Regions from separate parts of the Homo sapiens genome. Here all the other regions are linked to region 2. The links are contacts of gene promoters, found by promoter capture Hi-C in blood cells and fetal thymus (Javierre and others, 2016). All regions are on one chromosome and are shown on one strand. The core of a region is centred on a gene start or on the middle of the fragment in contact, and the rest is flanking DNA. Distances in the headings are between cores, read along the strand shown.

Region 1 (4,660 bases), core at 1,139-3,638, 7.3 Mb before region 2:
CGTGGAAAAAGAGACGGAGGGAAGTTGCTTCTTTTTCCAAGGATATTTGCATAATTGGTTTTCCCCTGAACTTTTCTGATCATTCTTTAAAGTGATTAAGGATATCGGGTGTTGTAGAGACGCTCTGGGGGAGGTGTGTGTTTCTGATAAATGCTTGATGCCCTTTTCGTCGCTGAAAAAGGCTTTTTGCGAATGATCCGCTTTGATAGTGTGGGGTGACACTGTCGGGTTGTGCTGCCAGACTTAGCGGCCTTCTTCAAATTTGTAAGAGGGAAACCCTGGGGGATTTACTTGGTCACTCTGATTTGTTAGTGTCTTCAGCGTGAAAAAAAAAACAGCGTTTGTGCGAAGAGTTTCTGGGAAAGGCTTGTGTTTATCGGCTTCTTTTTGCAAGGGAAAGTTAATCTTTGTTGTCATTATACTGGTTAGAAGAGTAATTGGTTTTCAGGCAAAAATTTCTATTTTCTTAAATTGGGTGTAAATGCCAGCGGGCAGTGCGAGTCTATAGAATTTTGGAGACAGGCAGGAGAAGGTTTCTCAAATCGTGAAGTCATTAAATACCTTTGTTAATGTCGGAGGCAACTAATTATTTTTGGAAAGGCATTGATGAGGACATACGCCATATCTGATCTTCAAATAAGTTAACAGTTTGTATAGTTGAGGTGACAGCAGTGCATAACTAATAGACATAGTGCTTTTTTTTATACACAAGTCAGAATTACAAAAGAATTTCTGGTGAATTATTTTGTGAAACATACAAATTCTAAGAAACGCTTTTACAGTTTGGTACAGAATGGAAATTTTCTAATTCTTGAGAAATAAGGTTGTGTTTTTAGTTTAAATGTCAAACCAGAGTTGTTAGGCATGATTATACTGGCTGGTTAATGTTTTGCTGCAAGATTGTCTTCAGAGTTACTTTTCGCATCAGCAGTGGCACTATGTTAGGTGTGCCCTTGTATTTAATTTTCATAATCTTTTTTGATGAATATTATCCCAGTTTATAGTTGAGAAGTAACTTATTCACCGTTACAAAACAACTGAGCAAAGAGGGAGCTTAATTTGAACCTACGACTGTCTGATTGTAAAACTCTTGGTCAAAGGATGTTAGAACCAAAACAGAGGAGATTTCTAGTGTGCAGGGTTAGAAATATCTTCAGAGATCCTTCCCCCTACTCCCCTGAAGAGGTAGCTCCGTTCTGATCTGAGTTAGGTATTGACGTTTTCAAAGGTTAGGTAAACCACCAGATTTCAACCTTTCAGGTTTTCATAGTAGGGAAACTGAACTGCATAAAGGTTAGGCAGCTTAACTGCTAGTTAATGACAATAGCAGGATTATGTCTTTACTTCTGAGATAGTAGTTTTTACTTTGAATAGGTGGTGTACATTTATGTCCCGAGTTAAAATATGTGTGTGTGTGTGTGTGTGTGTGTGTATGTATATATATATATCAAACAGTACAAAAAGGTAGGCCTCACTTGCCCTGCATACCTACTTTCCAGAGGTAACCAGTATCACCAGTTTCATGTGTACGCCACAGGTATTTTAAGCTTATTCAAGAACTCGTAAATATATAGAGAAAGAGCATTCTTTTTTAAAACTCCAACTTTTTTGCACTTAACCTGGAGATTTTCCATGTTAGTACAAATGTTGTATTCTTGTTTAAAGTTGTACTGTACAATTGTCCCTTGATATTAAAGGGGAATTGGTTCCAGAACCAAAACCACGAATGCTCAAGTCGCTTATATGAAATAGTGTAGTATTTGCATATAACCTACTAACATCCCATATACTTCAAATCATCTCCATTTATGATATTACAATGTAAATGCTATGTTAATAGTTAATATAGTTGTTATAGTTTTTTATTAGTAGTATTTTTTATTATTGTGTTTTTTTGTCCCCCCCTCCAACAATTTTTGATCCTGGGTTGGTTTAGTCCATGGATGCAAGAAGCCATGGATAAGGAGGACCGACTATATTCCGTTGTTTGGGTTTATTAATTTTTCATATCACTTATTGATGGCCAAGTAGGTTATTTCGAATGTTCTGTTCTGCTCTGGCAAGGCAGCATAGTGTTGTAGTTAGAAGTGTGGATTCTGAAGTTCAAGTTCCACTTCCATTAAATACTAGTGACATTTACTTATCTTCATCTGTTTTCTCCATCTCTAAAATGGGCCAGTAATTTACTTCTGTAGGACAGTCATGAAGAGGTTGGATACATAAAACACGTAGTGCTTAGTAAGTTTTCTTAGGATTTTTTCGTGTTTGGTTTTTTGGTTTTGTCTTTAGTAATATGCATCTCCAAGTATATCTTTTGTATTGATTACTGAAAGTGCAAGTTCTGGCTAGAAAGTGTAAGTGAAATTTTTATAAAATGTTGTCATATTGTCCTTCAGAGAGGACAGTACCAATTTACACAACCGCAGTCCTGCCATGCTTTCTAATGAGTGAAATATTGGTAATGACTGATACTATCCTAGAAGCATGAGCCTCAGTTTGATTCTTTGAAACAGTCTTAAATTGCCATTTTTTGTATTCTTGAATATGTTCTAAAATAGCAATCTTTCTGCTGTTTCACATCAGACTTTAATTTTTTAGGGTCAATTGAAAAAAACTGCTTGCCGCTTTAGAAAAAAATGATTCTCAAATCATGAAATGCTAAGTTGTGCTCTGGTATCAAATGCAGATTTTCTGCACAGGGTTTTCATAAAGGATTTAGCAGAATATAGAATCTTCAAAATCTAAACAGATTAATCGACTTTTTTAAAGATTGGATGAAGTTTGGTATTATCAAGGAAAAAAAAATAGGCTTAAAAGGCAATTATAATTACACTTTCTCCTTATTCAGATATACACCAGGAGTCGATCCACCACTGCTCCTTTGGCTTCCTTTAGTTATTAGAGTGATTTCCTCTTGCTAATTGTTTCCCACATTAATTTTAGCATCACTCTGCCTTCCTTAGCCCCATCCTATGCCAAACAGGCTTCTGTTTAGGAATCTCTGCCTCTGCATAGCTGGGATATTTTAGGCACGGTGCTCTGACCAGCAGCTGAAGTGCTGGCCAGGAGCTACTGACACCTGTTGAAAAATGCCAGTAGTTTTAATTTTTAAAACGTCTAAAATTTTTTACATATGCCAATTATGAGATCACTTGGTGGATCTTACTTACTTATTCATTAAGCACATATTTAGTAATTGTCATGCCACAGATAGTATTCTAGAAGCTTAATATTAAGGAGTTTTTTGTTTAGGATACAGTTGCTTGCTTCCATAGTGGAACTTGGGGCTTGTCCTGTACAACAGCGATTATATTTCTCAGAACATGCTGCTATGTTGGATTTCTGTAAAGTTCTCTAGATTTTATTTATAACATAGTAGGAGCAGCTTAAGTTTTGTGATAACATTTTAAGGCTTGAAGTAGGCACTGATTTGAAACATAGGAGGCTCTCTTCCGGTATGGGAAGCATGTTTTAATCTATAAAATAACAAATGGCAAATAAAGCACCTTTGAGGTGTTATTTAATGCTCGTACCTTAAGAATATTTTGTCTGAGTTCTTAGTATAGAATATAGTATTTCTTCATTCTTTAATTTCTTTTTTTTAAAAAATAAACACGGGGTCTTGCTATATTGACCAGGGTGGTCTGGAACTCCTGCCCTCAAGCATTCCTCTTACCTTGGCCTCCCAAAGGGCTGGGATGGCAGGCGTGAGCCACCACCGCTAGCCAATTTCTTCCTTCCTTAACTCCAAATTTGGGAGGAAGAGTTTACAACATTAGACAGTTGACAAAGCCTGGTTTTTTTTCTTTTGAGGAAAAGTTTTTTTAGTATGAATTAATAATCCTTTGGGAACATTAGATTCAGAGAATGAGAATTTCAAGACTCTTTACTCTTAAGTGATGGAAATGGAGATAAAGCAAACCTGACTGCAGTAGTCTTGCACCACAGCCCCCCACCCTCCAAAATATTTTTGACATGTAAGAAATCTGTTGCTTGTGATACGCGTAACTAAAATATATTTTCTCTACATCATGGGAAAGAATTGGCACATTTTTAATTGAAAGTACAGTAAGCAAAATTCTTTAAGATTTACAGACTGTGAAAAAATGAAAAATAATTACTCTGTATCTTTTAGAGAAAAGCTAATTCAAGAGATTTTAGTCCCACCTGCAGTGTAAGAGATCCAGCTTCTCTGTGTCTTTCAGCATTTGATGTTGCCACTATTTTTTAATTTAGCTCTTATATTAAGTGTGTGGTGATAATGTTTTTGGCCTTAATTTGTATTTCTCAAATGCCTAGGATAATTGAACATCTCATGTTCTTATTTGTCATCAGTAAACCTCTTCTGTGAAATTTCTCTTCTTTGGCTCACTTTTTTTTTTCTTTTTATACAGAGTCTTGCTGTGTCACCCAGGCTAGAATGCAGTGTCGCGATCTCAGCTCGCTGCAACCTCCACAGCCTGGGTTCAAGCAATCCTCCTGCCTCAGCCACCTGAGTAGCTGGGATTACGGGCACATGCCACCACACGTAGCAGTTTCTGTGTTTTTTAGTAGAGACAGGGTTTTGCCAAATTGTCCTGACTGGTCTTGAACTCCTGGCCTCAAGTGATCTGCCTGTCTTGGCCTGCCAAAGTGCTGGGTTTACAGGCATGAGCCAGCC
Region 2 (4,788 bases), core at 1,746-4,245:
TAAAAAAAAAAAAAAAAAAAAAAAAAAAAAAAGAACCAGAATATTAAAAATTGTACTCGAGTTATTTAAATACTTCTGTCAAAAACATCCCAACCAGTGGTTTACTCAAGTTCAAATCATGCAACAATGCTGACTCCTCCTTTCTTTCTCCTTACACCTAATTGCCAAAAAGACCCTATTCAATTTCCCAGTACTGCCCATATTCTTTCCTATTTCCACTGTAATCTATCTAGCATAAGCCTTTACTACCTCTTGCTGGAGTACTGTAAAGTCTTCTTAATTCTAGTATTTTACTCTTCCCAAGAAACAACATTTTTTATTTTGTATTATGGTTATTTCTATACCTTACTTTGCCCTGTACAACCCTTCTCTAGAGTATTTTATTCATTTGGTACCTTCAGTTACCATTTGCAAAGTAAGACTTGAAAAAAAAGTTTGATTGCTTCATTATGAGTAGAATGATCTGAAAAATTATGATGGTGAACAATCACTTCATTTAAAGCTGATTTGTCAAGAACAAAACTCTCAATCAAAAGAAAACTTTCTCAAATGAAAATTAGCCTAAATTTTCTGAAAAATTATAAGAAAAAAGAGCCAGAAAAGAGACTACAGAACGTGTGGTACTTGGCAGGGAAGGAAATAGAATCAAGGAGATACTCTATCAGTATGTTGTGAAGAAAAATGATATTTACCATTTGGGACTGTCAGTTTTAGGATATACATGAATAAAAGTTGAGAATAAATTTCATAAACTGCCCTAGTAACCACAGCCATCACCTTTCCAAATATTGTTAGTGTCATTGTTTTATAAATATTTGCCAACTTGAATAACTTCAATGCTAACTGGAGGTAAAATTTAAAGGTTGTTTTTTTTTTCCCAATAAAAAATAGAAACTGGGTCTTTTAGTGATTACAGAATAGAATTCTCTCCCTAGCAATCAAGAATATCCTCATTCTGCAGAAAACTTCCTTTTGTGATTAATAAAAGAGGAGAACTGATACTCATTGACTGTCTACTATGAACCATGCACTATCAAAATGTTAACACACAACTCAAAAAGCCATCTTATGACATAGATACTATTGTCCTTGTTTCATTGAATTAAACACAGAGTAAGCACATCCAGTGACTCCATTCAAACCTAGGTATATTTAATTCAAAAGCCAAGAACATCTCATGAACAAGGAACATTCTTAATAATTCAGTGATACTACCACTTCCAAGATAAATTTTCCAACCAGTTGCACTAAAATAGGGAAAATGCGATCAAGCCACACTTTGATTTTATCAATCACACTGACTGGCAGGCAGGAATATCCTTTGAGACCTGTATTTACTTAATGTCCCTATTCATCTAAATGAATATATATTAGCACCTACTATGTTTCAGTCGCTACTTTGGATTTGGAAGCTGGGAAATACTACCAACTCCGCATGGGGAAACTCTGCGTTCACTCCCAGTTGTCATGAGCTTGCCCATAAACTTATCCCTGAGGAATGCAAGAAACTAAGGAGGCAGGACGTCCATCAGTCTTGCTCATTCTGGTATTTATAGGTCTCAGTCAAAGCCGGGCACATAGTAGGTACTCAAATATTTGTTGAATGGAAGGAAACTAACATTCCTTGAGCACTTGAACGCTCAAGACAATGTTCGATCACCTCACTGGAATCCTAAGGACAACCAAAAGAGGTAGGTTTTTCACTACTCCCGTTTAATAGATGAGGTTGACAGACTTAGATTCACTTACCCAGGATTTAAAGGGACTGACCCGAAAGCCCAAGGCTCTCCCTACATCATATCCTACTTAAGAAACCTTTTAATTGTGTGCACATTGCCTCAGTGCGATTTTTGAAATGCCCTCTAGATCACCAATTTGATAAGTATCTTACGCTACTTTACACTTTAGTTGCTTTAAAACACTTTCTAGAACGGAACAATGTTAATATAATCTAATCTTAACATTAAATTTCCTTAAAAATTACAAAGACAAAAATTTGAGGTATATCAGAATGAGATTCAAAACTATGAGGCAATGTATCCTCATTAAGGCTTTTTGAAGAAATGACAACTCTAGGAAATCAAGAATGAGAGCTCTGCCATGTTAACGGAAAAAAAATACAATTAAAAAAAGAATGCTACATTAGAAACTGATAGATCAAATGTATTATATCTTTTCTTGTTGAAATTCTCGGTAAACTGCTAGAGGTCCTTTCAAGTAGCCTCAATACATCACAATTCACAAAACAAGCAAAGCCAAAATCTATGTTCGGTACATACTAAACAGGTGCTGTATTTCTAAAACTCTATTTACGAATCTTTTCATACCAAAATTTGAAAACCATATGATCTAGTACAGTCCAGAATATCCTCAAACTATAACTCTCTGAAGTGGGTTAGAAAATATTACAAAGCTCCCAAAATAAAATTTACCTGAACTCACTTAAATTTGATAAATAAAGGTTTGAGCAGCGGCCCGTAAGAGAAGGGGAAACAGAAGCGGAGTGTGAGAGCTGGTAGTAAAATCGAACATTCTGTGCCATGTCTGGCAACCGAGAGTCAGGCCCTCAAGTATGTGACACCACTGGGGCGGTTCCGAAGGCGGAGTAAGGTCTCCAGAATAACTCAAAAGGAAAGAGTTTCATAACTTAAGTGGTTTCATTTCAGATTACCCACGTGAAATTTGTTGATGAAAAAAAAATCATACCCACTGCACAGATGAGAAAAACAGGAGCGTTTTCAGGTTATACAAGCCGACGCCTGGCGCCCGGCGTGACGTGAAACGCTCTAAGTTGCTGGAGCTGGATACCAGGTGAACTGAGATTTAAATTGTGGAAAAATCGGCCTGGAGAGGTACAAGGCCTGTAGACGGAGGGCAGTAAGGTCACGCAAATTTCCCTGAGGAAGGCGGCTTTGGAGGCTGCGTGCTTTCCGGGCCGGTACCCCACAGCCCAGTCTCCCACGCGTGAGCGGAGCATGGCGAATGCTGCACGCCTGGGTCCCGCTCCCAGTCGCAGTTTCCTCACCCCAGAGGTCACCCTGACCCGGAAACAGTACCCAGAGCAGCTGTCGGGCGTCGAGGGAGGTCTGGTGGAAGGGCGAAAGGAAGGTGGGAGGGCGGGAAGTGCGCGGCTAGGCGGAGGGCCGACGGCGAAGGGCAGACAATGCCCCAGAGGCTAGGGCTGGGGTCGGGATGGGGGTAGGGAGAGGAAAGCCCCTCCCAGGCACGCGCGAACCGCACACACTCACCTGCCCCTCCCCCTCCCCGCCCGCCCGGCGGAGGCTCCGAGCTGCCGCGGGCCGCGCGCGCACACAAGGCGCGCTCACGCGCGCTGCCTGTCTCTTCCTCGAGCTCGCGCTCCGCCCGCTCACTCCCAGCCCCGCTCATTCAAAGCCGGGCGCGCGCTCCGTAGCAGCCTGCGTTGCCTCTGCGCAGCTGCCATGGCCGCCCCTTCATCGGGAAACCCGCCCCCAGCCCCTCCTCTAGCCCCGCCCCCAGCCCTCCTTGAAGGCGGCTCTCGGCTGTCTCCAGGCCCTCGCTTCTGCACTCCGCCTCAGGTCCTGGCTGGCCCAATAGGTGAGAGGCTACGGGTCTGACGTCGAGACTGGGAGCCAATGAGCCCTGGGAGCGGGGCAAGCGGCGACAGGCACGCCAGGTTCGGTGAGGGGTAGCTTTTTGGGACTATTGCGAGCTGCTTTGACTGTTTATTCTCGGAGCGCCTGCTTCTGCCAGATGTCCCTACTTTCCTTCTATGCAGAGTGCCTCCCCTCCAGCAAAGTCCCTTTCTGTTCAACCCACAGAACCCCTGTGTCAGATGCGACCAAGGAAAATACACTGCAACAAATGAGGGATCTCCCTCTGTCTCAGGAAGATTTGGATGTGGCTAGACAGACCCCCTCCCCTCAGTCATTCCGCCACCTCAAAGATGTGGAATGCTGAGTTTAATTCAAGACGTAGCCTCCTCCCAGTAATTTTTAATTGAATTGTGTTGAACTAGAAATGAAGAAGTGGCACTTCACCGTGTCCATGCATTTGTTCCTCACATGCACCCTGGACTTGCCCTTCTTTCAACCTGAGATGTTCTTTCCTTCAGTGCTTCTCTCTTTGCAGCCTGATTCTTCTTTTTATCTTGTATGCTATGAAAGGGGTTGTTATGTGCAGGGGACCCTCAGAATACTATGCTCCACAGTTGCAAAGTGACTGGTGAGGGAGAAGTGAATAGGGTCTAAGGCCAAAATCAGTTTATGCAAATTGTTCTCAACAAGCCTTTTTCTTTATATGCCTTTAATTTTTTTTTTTATTACAGCTGCCTTTGTTCTCCCACCCTGACCCAGCAACCACCTACCCACTTAACTTTGTGATAATCTACCACAACCGTCCTCTTTCCAATTTGCACCACGTTTTTTATTAATAATTTAATTTCCAAGACGGGAAAGATGTGTTTATGGCTCGTGCTCTGGAATGGTTCTGTGTAAAGTTGGGTAAAATTATTTAATCTGTTCACCTCAATTTCCTCATCAGTAAAATGGCCATAATAGTGCCTACTTCATGCAGTAGTAATGCTTGCAAAGCTCTCTTAGCACAGAGCCTGGCACATAGCAAACATTCATAGATAACAGTTGTTGCTGCAGCTACTACTACTACTGCATTACTATTGCATTACTACAGTATCATTTCCGGTAATTGCATTTCCCAAAGGCCATGCAACCCCTTTCAGTCCCTTAAACACCTGCTCTAACTTTAATCTCTAGAATTCTAATGCCTAAATTTCAATATAAAATTTCTAAA
Region 3 (4,584 bases), core at 2,024-4,523, 7.2 Mb before region 2:
ATGGGGACTCATTCTGTTGCCCAGGTTGGAGTGTAGTGGTGTCATCATAGCTCACTGTAGCCTCCAACTCCTGGTTTCAAGAGAACCTCCTGCCTCAGCCTCCTGACTAGCTAGGACTACAGGTGCATGCTACAGTGCCTGGCTAATTAAAAAAAAAATGTAGAGACAGGGTTTTTGCCATGTTACCCAGGCTGGTCTCAAACTCCTGGCCTCAAGTGATCTTCCTGCCTCAGCCTCCCAAAGTGCTAGGATTACAGGAGAGAGCCACTGCACCTGGCCCTCCCTCTTTCACCTAAGATGGTGCAACTATTTTTCATACAAATAAATCATTGTAGTGGGCCAATGTGATGTTGTGTAGAATGTCAAGATAATCGAGATCTCTTCAGACTATATTATGGCTGAGAGCCTATGAGCCAACATATGCATGATGCAAGACTGTGAAGGTGTACTATTAACCTTGTCAAGAAAAAACAAAGTTCTTTTCATTTATTTATTTATGTAATTTTTTGAGACAGAGTCTCACTCTTGTCACCCAGGCTGGAGTGAAATGGCATGATCTCAGCTCACTGCAACCTCTGCCTCCTGGGTTCAAGCGATTCTCCTGCCTCAGCCTCCTCAGTAGCTGGGATTACAGGTTCCCACCACCACGCCAAGCTAACTTTTGTATTTTTAGTAGAGACCGGGTTTCCCTATGTTGGCCAGGCTCGTCTTGAACTCCTGACCTCATGATCCACCCGCCTCAGCCTCCCAAAGTGCTGGGATTACAGGCGTGAGCTACTGCAGTCAGCCAAAAAACAAAGTTCTTTTAGTGGTCCTAGCACATTGATAAAGAGCAGGGTATGGGGAAGGGGCCAGGTGGGGTGGGGGTGGGGGGGGCGGTGCACATTTTTGTATCAGGTGTGAAGAGCTGTATTCATTGTTCCAGTGAAGACATTACATCTGAAAAAACTGCTGGAAATAAATCTTGCCTGATTAACATTAAAATAATCCACAGTCATTGGTTTTAAGATCATCTACCTTCTGCAGAGGCCCAATAGATGCATTAAATGGAGATGTAATAGGAATAAACACTTCTACCTCATTCTATCATTTGATGATAGTAGTGTTAATAATCTCTGCAATTCCCCCAGTGATGTCCTATCTTTTGGTTTATTATACAGCAGAAAAGAGAAATTCCAACAGCTTCTACTTGACCCTTCCTATCCTAACGACCCTTAGCCCATAAATGAGAGCCAATATGGGGACATGACCAGTTACCAAGTATGTCTTTAACGACTGTACTTTCTGAACTGGGAATAAACAGGATGGGCTCAAGTACCTACTGAGCTCACTGGACTCAAATTTGACCTAAAACTCAATTTTTCTGTCACTTCACCACCATAAACTCCTACTCTAAATGGTGGTCCAGTAGCATTTTGAGACCCTAGCAACTAGCATCAATTCAGAACCAGAAATATTCCCAAAGGTCTGAGTATTTCTATTCCCCAATTCACAGTCCCTCTAGAAAGTGGCCACAGGTCCCTTTGGGAAAGGGGACTTGAAGCACTGCTACAAGTATATACTGTAATTTTTATATACTGGATTCTTTCTCAAGAGAACCCAGCGTCCCCTTAAATTAAGGAGTTCTGGCCCTTGAACTATTTTAGTCTGGAAATTGGATGAGTCATGACTCTCCCTTCTGGTAGACCTGACGTTATTTCATTTACTTTTTTGTTGGTTTGTTGAGACAGGGTCTTGCTCTGTCGCCCAGGCTGTAGTGCAGTGACATGATCAAGACTCACTACAATGTCAACCTCCCAGGCTCAAGTGATCCTCCCACCTCACCCTCCCATGTAGTTAGGACCACAGGCACATGCCACCACACCTGGCAATTTTTCGATTATTTGTAGAGATGAGATCTCCCTATGTTGCCAAGGCTGGTCTCAAACTCCTGTGCTCAAGTGATCCTACTACCTTGGCCTACCAAAATGTTGGGATTACAGACATAAGCCACCACACTTGGCCTTCATTTTCATTCATTCAACAAATATGTATTGACACATTCTACTCAGTACAAATTCGTGTATTATACATTCTATATTCTTATATGGAATATATATTTTTATAGAATATATTAAATGGAATATATAGAATATATCCTTATATGGAATATATAGACTATATTCCTGTATGGAATATAGGTATGGGGATAGTATTCACAAAACAAAAACAAAAACAAAAAAAAACAAAAACTGAAGTACAAGGAGATGAGACTTTTGTTAAAATATCTTTTAATTTTACCGGCAAAATACATCAATGACTAATATATTCCCGTATGGAATATATTCTTATTGGAATATATTCTTATATAGAATATATAGACTATGTATATATACATATGTGTATATACCTATATACATATATATATCTTGGAGATATAAAACTAATTGGGAATAATGTCATATATATAGATAGTAAGCAAACATTTTTTAAAACATTTTAAAGACTCCAAACTATTCATTTCTATCCACCTATAAAAAACTAGCAATTAAACCTGTCAAATCACAGCCATCTTGCTTTACGCAGATTCAGAAACATGAGATCCTTTTACCTTTGAAACTCTAGTTTCAAAGCTGTTCTAAAGTGACTTGGTTTTAATTTATATACTTGCAGGGATAAGAAGTAGCTGTAGGGCCATAAAAATGTAAAGAATACAGTATCGTGCCCATACACAACTGCAAACACTTATTTTTAAGTGTTCGTAAAAGATAGTGGTCTTCAGAAACACCCCTTTTCAGATTGGCAAACTTTCAGAGTTCAAAAGTGCATGTATTACACTTTTATCCCCAACAAAGCTAGTAGCTACCCTCTAAAGCAGAGGTTAACATTTTCTTTTTCCAAACCACAGAATGGATTATGATCCCATGTGCATACTCCCATGGTTCCCTTCCCCAAGTTGTATGAAAAAATAAAGCAAATAATTCTGAGGTTTTAGGGGTAGTGGTATAGGGATAGTATTCACACACAAAAAAACTGAAGTACAAGGATATGAGACTTTTGTTAAAATATCTTTTAAAGTAATTTTACTGGCAAAATACATAAATGATTAACCAGTTTTAAAATAGTAAACTTATTTATTTATTTATTTTTGAGACGGGGTTTCACTCTCTCACCAGGCTGGAGTGCAGTGGCATGATCTTGGCTCACTGCAACCTCCGCCTCCTGGGTTCAAGCGATTCTCCTGCCTCAGCCTCCCGAGTAGCTGGGACTACAGGCGCACACCACCACACCCAGCTAATTTTTGTATTTTTAGTACAGACAGGGTTTCACCATGTTGGCCAGGATGGTCTTGATCTCTTAATTTTGTGATCTGCCAGCCTCGGCCTCCCAAAGTGCTGGGATTACAGGTGTGAGCCACCATGCCCTGTCAAAATATTAAACTTACTAATACATTGTAATTTTTAGTACTTCTATAATTACTGCTTCATAAAAAAGTGGATTTTTCCAGCTCTCCAGTTCAGATGCTATTAACAGGTAATCAGATAGCACTGACTAAGTAGAAATAGATTAAGAGTAATACCTAAATTTAATGTATTTTAGCATATTGAAATGAGTATCATCAGTGTATATTTCATTTATCACTTTGTCTACACTTTATTAGGTGGCCTTAATGCTTGTCATTGACAAATGTTAACTTTCCTCACAAAACCTACACTATTCACTTTTTTCCAGTATTTTTACCTTCCTTATTAAAAATGTTTCTACCATCAAGAATTTAAAATAGAATCATGACATTGCAATCCAAACACTACCTTGGCTTGCCAGATTAGTCTACGTGTCACTCCTTGGTGTAAAGCTATAATTCCAACTTCCAGCAAAGAAGTATCTCTGAATTCAAATGAGAATGACATTTCTATGGGAATAAATGTGAACTGTCTCACATTTAACCATTAAGAATTTACTCATACGTCATCATGATAACCTAATGTTAGACTGAGAATCACTGCTCTAGTGTGGCTCCAGAAGCTGTCAGTCAGGAACTACTGATACGATTTCACTTGTCCAATAATTTTATACTTCCATCTTGTAGTACAAAAACATTTTAATTTTGGCCTGATAAATGACTAAAACAATTGCCGGGGGAATTCAGAGAGACACGTTTCATTATTCAATTCCTAACTGAATTGACCCTCATTGATCCTCAGACTAATTTAGACACTTTTCAATAACATTCACAGTCAATCTCAAAGAGAATATTATTTTTGAATTCTTGCTATTGAAGTTAACATTTACATCTAAAAGAAAATCATCATCCTTATTGGACAAGTAGAACTCAAACAAACAAACAAAAAAACTCTAGTCATAATAATGAAAATACTGAGTTTCTGATGTACAAAGAGTAAAATATTCATATACTGGAAAAATGGTGCAGTATAAATGGGCAAAATTTCACTCTTTCTAGTAGGAAGTCAATAAATAATTGATGTATCAAAAAGTAGCGGTATAATCATACAATTTGGAAATATAAATTCTTCAACTACTAGAATTGAAAGAGGAAGTTTCTTCTGTCAATGTGAAAGAGGGACTGCCTCTTTTTTTGTCACA
Region 4 (4,680 bases), core at 1,033-3,532, 7.2 Mb before region 2:
AGACTCTGTCTCAAAAAAAAAAAAAAAATTAACATAACTATTAATATATTTGGGCTTAAGATTGCCATTTAAGTTATTTTTTATTCATTCTCTCTGTTTTCATTTCTCTCTTTTCTTTTTCTTCATTCTTCTGGGTTATTTGAACATTTTAAATAATATATTGATTTATTTACATTATTTTGAGTGTATCTCTTTGTAAAGCTTGGATGAGGTCACCATAAAAGAGAACAAAAATAGGGGAAAGAAGATGTTCAAAGTCTAAATTTGGTGCTCTTCAATATTTAAAGGTTGAAAAGGGGTAGAAAAATCAGCAATGGGAACTGAGAATAAAGGAGGTAGCCAGTGAGATAGGAATGAAATTAGGAACCGAAGTGACGGAAATGTCAATGCTTCTGGGCCCTTTCTTGTCAAGGTGATCATATTGATTTCTAATTCAAATTCTTCATATTCTCTGGCCCTCTCTCTCTCTCTCTCTCAGTTGTACCTCTTACATCTAGTGTATTTCATAAAGAGGGCCCACATGAACTGTCTCAGGACAGATGAAAATAACCCATTGTAGTATGTTTAGCACACGTGGCTGCAAAACCTTAGTTGGATATTTTCAAGGACAAAAAAATTGCAAAATATTTTAAACTTTACTTTGTAGTTTTACTGCTATGAGGATATTGGTATTGTAATTCTGAAACAAAACTGTGTTATGTATGTTGTAGGATAAAGCAATAAATAAATGTATTATTGTTTATAAGTAGCCTCACTGTTTTCTAATGCTCATCATTCCAGCTACCTAGTGGTAGGCAAAAACCTCCAGTCTGGTTCTTCCATGCGAGATTTTCTTTCTTCTTTTTGTGAATGTTCTGTTACCAATTTCTAGTGTAATTTTACCAGGATCAACCTTTAAAACCTCTAAATTTGTGGACTTTCTGTGTGACCTAGGGTTTGGTGTATTTTAATAAATATTTCATATACACTTGAAATGAGTGGATATTAACTTTTCATTTTGTAGTGTTAAGAATTTGTAACATGTAACTATTTCTCCTCCCAGATTGAAATATAACACCAGATCCCAATGACAAAACAACAAAAAACTTCAGGGCAGGATATGCCGTTTATTGATTTAATTATTTCATCAGTTCTGTATACATATTTATTGAATAAACATTTCAAAAATAAGGGATAGGAAAAAAGTCATTTGGAAGTAGAAAAGAATGTTTCAAATTACTTATCTAAAATGGCTTCTTACAGTTGTCATATATTCTTTTAAGGACTTGAGATGTGTATTTCAGAGTAATGTGTCATAAATCAGCGTGATTTTTAGAAAATATATTCTGTATCATCCTTCAACAATACCTCAGATAACTTCTTTGGTACTTTACTCAGGTAAATCTCTACATGAAGCTAATAGCAAAAGGCTACTATTTCTGGTAATTCTGATAAAAGTTTCTATGTCTTAATTTCTATATAATCTAAGTGGTTACAAGCAGCTATCTAAAATTACGTAAAACAAGCTGTGCAATACTGGCTCATCGCTAATTAACAGAATAATGTCGGACAAATCACTTATCAGTTTTCTAATATGCATAATGCGAGTTAGTACAGCACTTCATTGCAAGATCAGAAATGAAAGCATTTTTACATAAGAGACACTACAGAAATAATGCGAACTGTAATGCTATTATGACGGTTTGCCTAGTGGTGAATGATTAAACATTTAAAAAGTTTACTTTCATCTTAGATCATTCCATCGGAAAGAGGTCGAAAATGTACAGTAGGCATGCACAAAGGATACCGCCTGGAAAGAAGGTAAAACTGGAAAACAGGAGGGAGGCGGGGCCCAATTTTGGCTTCTCCTTCCGTCTCCGCCCCTCGAACGCCGGCCTGCGAGTGACGTCACGCGAGACTTGTACTTCCGCTTCCGGTAACTCACGTTTCTCTTTCTTCCTGTCTGCTTGGAAAGATGGCGTCCCGCAAGGAAGGTACCGGCTCTACTGCCACCTCTTCCAGCTCCACCGCCGGCGCAGCAGGGAAAGGCAAAGGCAAAGGCGGCTCGGGAGATTCAGCCGTGAAGCAAGTGCAGATAGATGGCCTTGTGAGTGCTGTTCTTTTTCCTCTGGCCCACGTGGGGAGCGCAGTTCCCAGCCCCGTCCCACCAGACGTACTTTCTAGCATTCTCCCCCTTGGGCTTGGTGTGGCTGGGCCAAAGTTTTTCCCTAGTACGTTTCTCTTTCATCTTCACTTTTTGTTCAGGAGCTTCGACAGCCTTCTCTTGTCTTCTAACGGGACAGTTGGGGCTTCAGGAAGGGGACTGAGAATAGGGGTGTGAGTGACAGGTTCCTGGGGTCTTGTTTTGAGATGACCGGTGGGGGGATTTGAAGAAAGACTCCTGGAGACCAGCAGCTAACGAAGGTGTCGAGAAGGATTTAGGGACCTAGTAGGGCTCTGGGAAGGAGAGAGTAAGGAAACTCCACTGATTCCCTGCTGGGATCTGACATCTATAACGTTCCAAGTGGAGATGTACTTTGTAGCCACTCTTTTGAGCCTGTACTTCGGCGCTTTATCTGAAACCGTATAATTTAGAATACTCTTTTGTAGTGTTCATTCTGAAAAACATAAAAGAATATCAAAGAGAAGGGCCTTAAATGTATTTAGTAGTTAAGGTTCATGAACTAGGACATCCAAGGAAATTCTTGATAAGGAAATGGACTTAGCTGGGAAGAGGAAAATCTAGAATGAGAAATTTTATTTCTGTTGTTTCGAAGCAAAATGCATTTATATGACGTTCTAGTTTTAAAAGTATCCTTCCTGCCCTCTTTTTAAAAAGCATCCTCTCTTCCTTTGATTTTTTTAAAGGTTATTTCCTATTAATGCAGATCTTAGATATTTGTAATAAGAAAGTACTTTTAAATTCATGTGAAAATTGTAATTGCAAGCAGGTATTTTTAAGTGGAAACTGTTGATAATTTAAACGCAGCATATAATTGAATCTGTTGAACTGACTTAGTTAAACTGGATACAAGAGTGTAGCCTGGTGGTTAAGAGCTCATTCAGTCTTCTAGGCTCTTCCACTTAACCAGCTCTGTGACTTTAAGGCAAGTTAGCCTTTCCAGGCTTTGCTTTCCTCATCTGTCAAGTGGGAATGAGAAGTATCTGTATCATAGAGTTGTTTGGATTAAATGAAAAAGTTTATGTGGTGACCTGTAGTACAGTGTAATCACTTAATGTTAATTATGATTATTATTATGAGTTTAATGTCTGTGGTTAGCAGAGTTTGAAAGATGCAGGCAAGAGATTAACTTTGGAATGTTTTGTTCTAAATGTCACTTGTGTAATACTTTGAAAATGCAGGCCGGGCGTGGTGGCTCACGGCTGTAATCCCAGCACTTTGGGAGGCCGAGGCGGGCGGATCAGGAGGTCAGGAGTTCGAGACCAGCCTGACCAACATGGTGAAACCCCGTCTCTACTAAAAACACAAAATTAGCCGGGCATGTTGGCACGCGCCTGTAATCTCAGCTACTCAGGAGGCTGAGGCGGGAGAATCGCTTGAACCTGGGAGGCGGAGGTTGCAGTGAGCCGAGATTGTGCCACTGCACTCCAGCCTGGGCAATAGAGCGAGCCTCCGTCCAAAAAAAAAAAAGAAAATGGAGTACTATCTGGCCTGTGTACTGGCACTGTGGCTTTCCCTGGCTCATGGGAGGCAGATGTGTGTTCAGGAATAAATGACGTATCTTTAGAGATTGCAAATCTCTAAAGTTAGTGGGTGGACTTAGATTACACTTGTTAAAATAAGTACCACTTATGCACTTGGGAAATGTTTATTTCTTAGAAACATATTTCTTATTAAATTTGCTATGTCACAACAGCACTCTTTGAATCACTTAGTTTCCAGAGTTGAAAAAGGCAACAGGTCGGTGGCATAAATCTATTTGGAGATCATTTATTTAGCAAATATTTTAGGACATTCTGTTAAGTGCCAAATACTATCTAACACAGGGCAGTGGTAAAAGCACTTCAGTAACAATGTCCTGGCAGCTTTAAGAGGGATTGTTGAATTAAACAGAGACCTGCAGGTGGAGATGGACTGGATCACTTCAGGTTTCACAAGGGTGCTTAGTCAAGAGACTGGTTCTCAATTTTTTGGACTCAGAAATTATTATTTTTTATCAGCTCTCTCAGAATTGATTAATGCTAAGGAACCAATTAGTCCTTCTCACAGGAGATTGGTTTATATACATGTAAATGTTGATTTACTCATTTACTGTGGAAGACATACCTTTTCAGTGGTGAAAACGCTCATATCTACCACCAAAAAGACCCTTTTGATTACCAAAGCACCTTGGAAATCGAATAAAAAAAATCAGAAGCTTACCAGTGACTCCAAAATCAATCATAATAAGAGCAGGTAAAGGATTATTTTACTTGAGAGTTATTTATATCCAGATTCTTGACGAACTTAGTGAATTATCTCTTATTCACGGTGGTGGGTACCTCTGTGCTTTTGTTCTCCATCGGTTGGGTAGATATTAACAAAATAAGTTCCTAACAACTTTCCCCCTTTTTGGACATCTGCCTTTCTGTCATTTATATGGTTTTAGGCAGCTAGATTATATTGCAGTTGCAAGGTTCTTTTATCTTGGTTGCTCATTTTTTAATGGTGAATGTTTTCCAGTTACCATAAATCATGTA
Region 5 (4,910 bases), core at 1,304-3,803, 8.0 Mb before region 2:
TAAAATTGGAGAGGATTATTTTGCATTGAATAAACTTACAGACAAAAAAAAAAAACTTAAAAAAAAAAAAGTTGGCTTTGAATGCAGGTCCACATGTAATCTAGTTATTGATAAAATACTTTTTTTGAAAAAGTTTAGTTCTGCGTAGAACATGAACCTGTATTATATCTTTTAATAATGTACATTGACAGCAAGTTAGTATTAAAAAGAGGTTAGTAGGAAGAGCTATTAGTCGTGTGTGATGTTGGGTAATTTATTTTTTCTCTCATTAAGCCTCAGTTTCCTTTACTGTAAAATAGGGATAAAAATACTCCTTAAAACTGCTCCTATAACAGGGTACCTGACCAAGGAAAGTACTTCGTAAGTGTTAGGTATTATTCGGTGCTTTGCATATAACAGGACAAAATTTTTTTTAAAGTATGCTAAATTCTGAGACATTATTTAATCCGTACTTTATTCATTCTAGATATGAATCTATTCATTTTTTTAAATTATTGCCAAAGAATGTCATAATTTCTCCTGGATCTCCTTTGTACTATATTTCACATGGTCTTAAAAATTTCCACGAAACTGAATTACTCTTATAATCAGGACGAAAAAAAAAGTCTTGACCAGTTAAAAAAAAAAAAAGCAATAAAACACTTTTTTGGACACCCACAGAAATAAGAGCTGTAAGATTTTTGAAAACTTGGTTTCAAATTTACCCTACCACTGACTAGGTTTGGGCAAGTCACTTTATCTCTCTGAAGTACAGAATCTTCATCTGTAAAACAAAAATAATATCTACTACATGTAGTGGGTAATATAAGCAAGCATTAAAAATGGGTCAGCAAAATGGTGCTGGAACAACTGGATATCCAAATGCAAAACAATGAACTTGGATCCGTATCTGCCACTATGTATACATATTTAAAAACTCACAAAACTAAATATAGGTTGTAGACCTAAATATAAAGCTTGAAAGTACAAAACTTCTAGAAGAAAACAGAAACCCTTTGTCACCTTGGGTTAGGCAAAGATTTCTTAGGTATGACAGCAAAACCAAAATCTATAAAAGAACAAATCAGTAAGCTGGATTCCATCAAAATTTAAAATGTCTGTTCTTCAAAAGACAGTATTAAGAGAATAAAAAGGCAGGATAGACTGGGAGAAGTATTTGGAAAGCATCAAGACATAACAGGTGTTGATGAGGATGAGGAGAAACTAGAACCCTCAAACAGCAATGTTTACATTCCCACTAGCAATAATCGGGACGTAAAATGGCTCAGGCCACTTTGGAAAAGTTTCTTAAAGTATTAAACAGACATGTACTGCATGATCCAGCAATTCCACTCCTGAATCTGTCCAAGAGAAATGACACATACGTTCACACAAAAATTTGTCAGCAAAAGTTCATAGCAGCATTATTTACAACAGCCAAAAAGTGGAAACAACCCAAATGTCCATCAACAGAAGAAAAGGTAGGCAAATGGTGATACATGGATACAATGGAACATTACTCAGCAATAAAAAGGAAATTATTGATGCATTCTTAGTGAAGGATCTCAGACAAAAAAAAAAGCCCACATACTGTAGACTCCGTTTATATAAAACCCTAGCAAATGCAAATTAATTTATGATTACAGAACGCAGATCAATGGTTGCTTAGCGATGGAAGGTGGGAAGCAAAGATGTCAGAGGGGTATGAAGAAACTTTCTGGGATGATGTGTACACTATTTTGATTGTGGTGATAATTTCACAAGTATACAGACTACAGTACACATATATATCAAAACTTTAGGTGAGTGTAGTTTACTGTATATTAACTATGCCAAAAAAAGGAGGACTGTTTTTTTAAAAAAAATGTAAATTCTTCAACTCCTTGGACCTCCCCAGAAGAAATGCTGGAAAAAACATTTAAAGCAACCTAAAGAGGGAAGTGGAGTGCGACCCATCTCTGCCTTGAAAGGTGCAAGAGTTTACAGAGTAACTAAAGAGCTCGATTGAATCTAAAAAAAATTGGCTTCAATTCTGCAGAAATCTGGTCTGGAAAACATCACCTCTACAAATCCGACTTTTGGGGACACTCTTGAGTGTGAATGGGGGAGACCCTACACCTAAGGTTTGCCCAGGGCAGCCCCGATGACATCCACGGGCCCCACGTAAAGAGGAAACCAGAGGCCCTTTCCCTCCCAGCTGCATCCCCCTGGCCTCGCGCGCCCGCCTTCCTACCTGCATGTTCCTCAGGAGCTGGAAGATCTCCATGGTGCGGTACACGATGTCCTGCACTGTCTCCTGCCCGATGCGGCACAGCGACGCCGTGTTGACTTCCCGGGCGGCCTGCTGAGCCTGGGGCCCGGCGAAGGGCCCGGGCGCCATCCCCGACGCGGCCAACGGAGGGGTGGACATGGCGCGGCTGCAGCTTCAGGCCGGAAGGGGCCAGACAGCAGGTGTCAGGGGTCTGCCCGGAATTGGGAGGCTGTGGGGCCTCAGCGTTGGAACCAGCTTGAGAGACCCCCCGCGGCCCGATTTCAAAACAGCGGCCGCGACTTCCGCCCACTGTGACGTAACACGTCAGAAAACGTCATAGACACCGCCCACTCGGCGAACTGTCTCCGAGCGGAGCCGGGCTGGATTGGATTGGACCCCTGGGCGGGAAAGGACGGACGGGTTAAGTAGCCAATCACCAATTGCGCTCCAGCCAGAGGGGCGATGTTCTTGGGGAGCCTGGGGTGAGTTCCCAGAGTTCGTTTCCCAGTCTTGGCTCAGCGTTAGAACCTTCTGTGTTTAGTTCCTTGCGGAGCATTTTCTCTTAACAAGCCTGAGGTTTGTAGTATAACAGCTAAGAGACAGGTTAAAGTACTTGTTGAGTCGCATACAGGTGTAACTGGCAACCTGCGATTCGAATTCAGAAAACAAGATTCCTAAGCTTGTACGCTTCTCTGTGACATGATACGGACTCCCCGATTGCTCTTGGTCCCTGCTCAGATGTTTTATTCTTTGAGTTTTCCCAGTATCTGTAAGCAAAAAAAATGATCAACACACACACTTCTTTCTGACTCTGGCTCTTATTAGTGTCTGATTTTTTTTTCTTTTTCTTTTTGAGATGGAGTCTCGCTCTGTCACCCAGGCTGGAGTGCAGTGGCGCGACCTCGGCTCACTGCAAGCTCCGCCTCCCGGGTTCACACCATTCTCCAGCCTCGGCCTCCCGAGTAGCTGGGACTACAGGCGCCCGCCACCACGCCCGACAAATTTTTTGTATTTTTAGTAGAGACGGGGTTTCACCGTGTTAGCCGGGATGGTCTCGATCTCCTGACCTCGTGATCCGCCCGCCTCGGCCTCCCAAAGTGCTGGGATTACAGGCATAAGCCACCGCGCCCGGCCTACTGTCTGATATTTTATATAGCTTTCAGTTTGTTTACTTTCAGACTTTATCTCACCCTATCTACACACACTGCCAACTCCATGAAAACAGACTATTTTATTCACTTATTCTCAACACCTAGTGATTGGCACAAGTATCAATAAATACTTATTGAATGATTGTTGAGTGACATGATAAATGCAAGAGAAATTAAAATGTCTCTCACAATGTCTCTCACTTACTGTTCATCTCCAAAGTGGGGAAAAGTGAAGAATGTAAAATTAGTGATAGGCACAAACATTGCATTTTTTAGAAGTATCTGAATGCTCCATTGTACGGACTTTCCAGGAAATAGTTACTAAATATGTCATAGGAACCCTGGTAGAGATTTTAAACATAGTAATTCGCAGGTCTTCGGTAATTACCATTCGACAAATATTGGCTGAGCACCTATTATGTGCTGGGTGCTAGGAGTGAAGATAGCGTACTGAACAAACCAGGCAAAAGCCCTGCAGCATGTTTGTCATGGGGACAAACAGAACACTATTGTGATGAGCGTCTTGAAGCAAAAGTTCCTGATATCAGGGTGCTAACAATTTAGGAGATTGAGAACGACCTGAAGGGAGCAGTGTGGAACCTGAAGGTGGATAGGGAAGGGAGTAACGAATGATAGAGTCTTTTCTATGAGGACGAGGAAGGCCAGTGCCAACACCTGAAGTGAAGAGGCCTCCTAATGCTTTCTAGGATCTGGAAGAAGTTCAGTGTGAGGACGAGTGTTAGGAAATAAGGCTGAAGACAGAGGCAACCCTGGAGGATCTTCTAACCCATGTCAAGCAGTTGAGAATTTATGGAGTGAAATAGCAAGCCATTGAAGAGTTTCAAGGTGAGAGGAATAATTTGAAATATTCATTTTAGAACACTTATTCTGGTTGCTAAATGGGGAACAGATGGTGGGTTTCTATTGTCTTCTCTCCCAAAGGGGAATGATGATGATGATCATGACCTGTGCAGAGAAAGGAGACAGAGGGTAACTTTGAATAAATATTTAGTAAGTAGAATCTAGAGAACTTGATAGTAACTGGATCAGGAACATTAAGGAGAGGAAAGAATTAAGGATGGCACGTATTTCTGCTTTCATGTGAAACTTCAGGTGAAGTTTATGTCATTTACCAAGACAGGATACACTGAAGAAAAAATAAGTTTCCGAGAAATTATGCCTTATGTTAATTTCCTATTGCACATGTAACAAATTACCACAAACTTTGTGGCTTAAAACAGCACACCTTTTATTATTTTATAGCTTTTTAGCTCAGAAGTCTGAAATTGTTCTCGCTGAACTACGCTCAAGGTGTTGGCGGGCTGTGTTCCCTTCTGGGGGCTCTCAGAAGGAATCTGTTTCCTTGTCTTTTCCAGATTTTAGAAGGCTGCCGCAATTGCTTGGCTCATGACCACTTCCACCAACTGCAAAAACCAGCTTTCATCCTTTTCAAAGCCAGAATTGGCTAGTTGAATATGCCATATCTCTGGTTCTGAGTCCTCTGCCTCTCTTTCATTTAAGTATCATTT

Evidence for each region. Contacts are between HindIII fragments. The CHiCAGO score rates a contact against its expected background, and 5 or more counts as called.
Region 1: a fragment that was not itself captured here is called in contact with the fragment with the promoter of EBAG9 in region 2 in 2 of 17 cell types (non-activated CD4 T cells and total CD4 T cells); the score reaches 5.8 in non-activated CD4 T cells.
Region 3: a fragment that was not itself captured here is called in contact with the fragment with the promoter of EBAG9 in region 2 in 1 of 17 cell types (total CD4 T cells); the score reaches 5.9 in total CD4 T cells.
Region 4: a contact is called between a fragment that was not itself captured here and the fragment with the promoter of EBAG9 in region 2, in 1 of 17 cell types (naive CD8 T cells). The highest score is 5.4, in naive CD8 T cells.
Region 5: a contact is called between the fragment with the promoter of MED30 here and the fragment with the promoter of EBAG9 in region 2, in 1 of 17 cell types (activated CD4 T cells). The highest score is 9.5, in activated CD4 T cells.

What each region holds. Positions count from the first base shown.
Region 1 is chr8:116,869,312-116,873,971 of GRCh38, reverse strand. The region is part of intron 1 of RAD21 (RAD21 cohesin complex component); the gene reads left to right. Among named protein-coding and RNA genes, the nearest start is that of RAD21-AS1, 2.8 kb to the left of the region's middle. The HindIII fragment of the contact is 1,678 bases long and covers 1,550-3,227 here.
Region 2 is chr8:109,538,380-109,543,167 of GRCh38, reverse strand. EBAG9 (estrogen receptor binding site associated antigen 9) reads right to left here and starts at 2,995. Exons shown (of 7, transcript NM_004215.5): 1 at 2,707-2,995. EBAG9UORF reads right to left here and starts at 3,442. Exons shown (of 1, transcript NM_001436381.1): 1 at 3,368-3,442. The coding sequence starts at 3,442. The coding sequence ends at 3,368. RefSeq lists an enhancer at 2,627-2,986 and a silencer at 3,047-3,596. The HindIII fragment of the contact is 10,757 bases long and covers 1-4,788 here.
Region 3 is chr8:116,772,354-116,776,937 of GRCh38, reverse strand. It overlaps UTP23 (UTP23 small subunit processome component), which reads right to left. Exons shown (of 3, transcript NM_032334.3): 3 at 2,254-4,584. Among named protein-coding and RNA genes, the nearest start is that of UTP23, 8.1 kb to the right of the region's middle. The HindIII fragment of the contact is 7,781 bases long and covers 1-4,584 here.
Region 4 is chr8:116,753,072-116,757,751 of GRCh38, reverse strand. EIF3H (eukaryotic translation initiation factor 3 subunit H) reads left to right here and starts at 1,929. Exons shown (of 8, transcript NM_003756.3): 1 at 1,929-2,086. The coding sequence starts at 1,955. The HindIII fragment of the contact is 4,157 bases long and covers 204-4,360 here.
Region 5 is chr8:117,518,356-117,523,265 of GRCh38, reverse strand. It overlaps MED30 (mediator complex subunit 30), which reads right to left and starts at 2,553. Exons shown (of 4, transcript NM_080651.4): 1 at 2,213-2,553. The coding sequence starts at 2,389. LOC105375716 (a long non-coding RNA gene) reads left to right here and starts at 2,546. Exons shown (of 7, transcript XR_928569.3): 1 at 2,546-2,712; 2 at 4,089-4,227. It also overlaps the pseudogene RPS10P16. The HindIII fragment of the contact is 1,953 bases long and covers 959-2,911 here.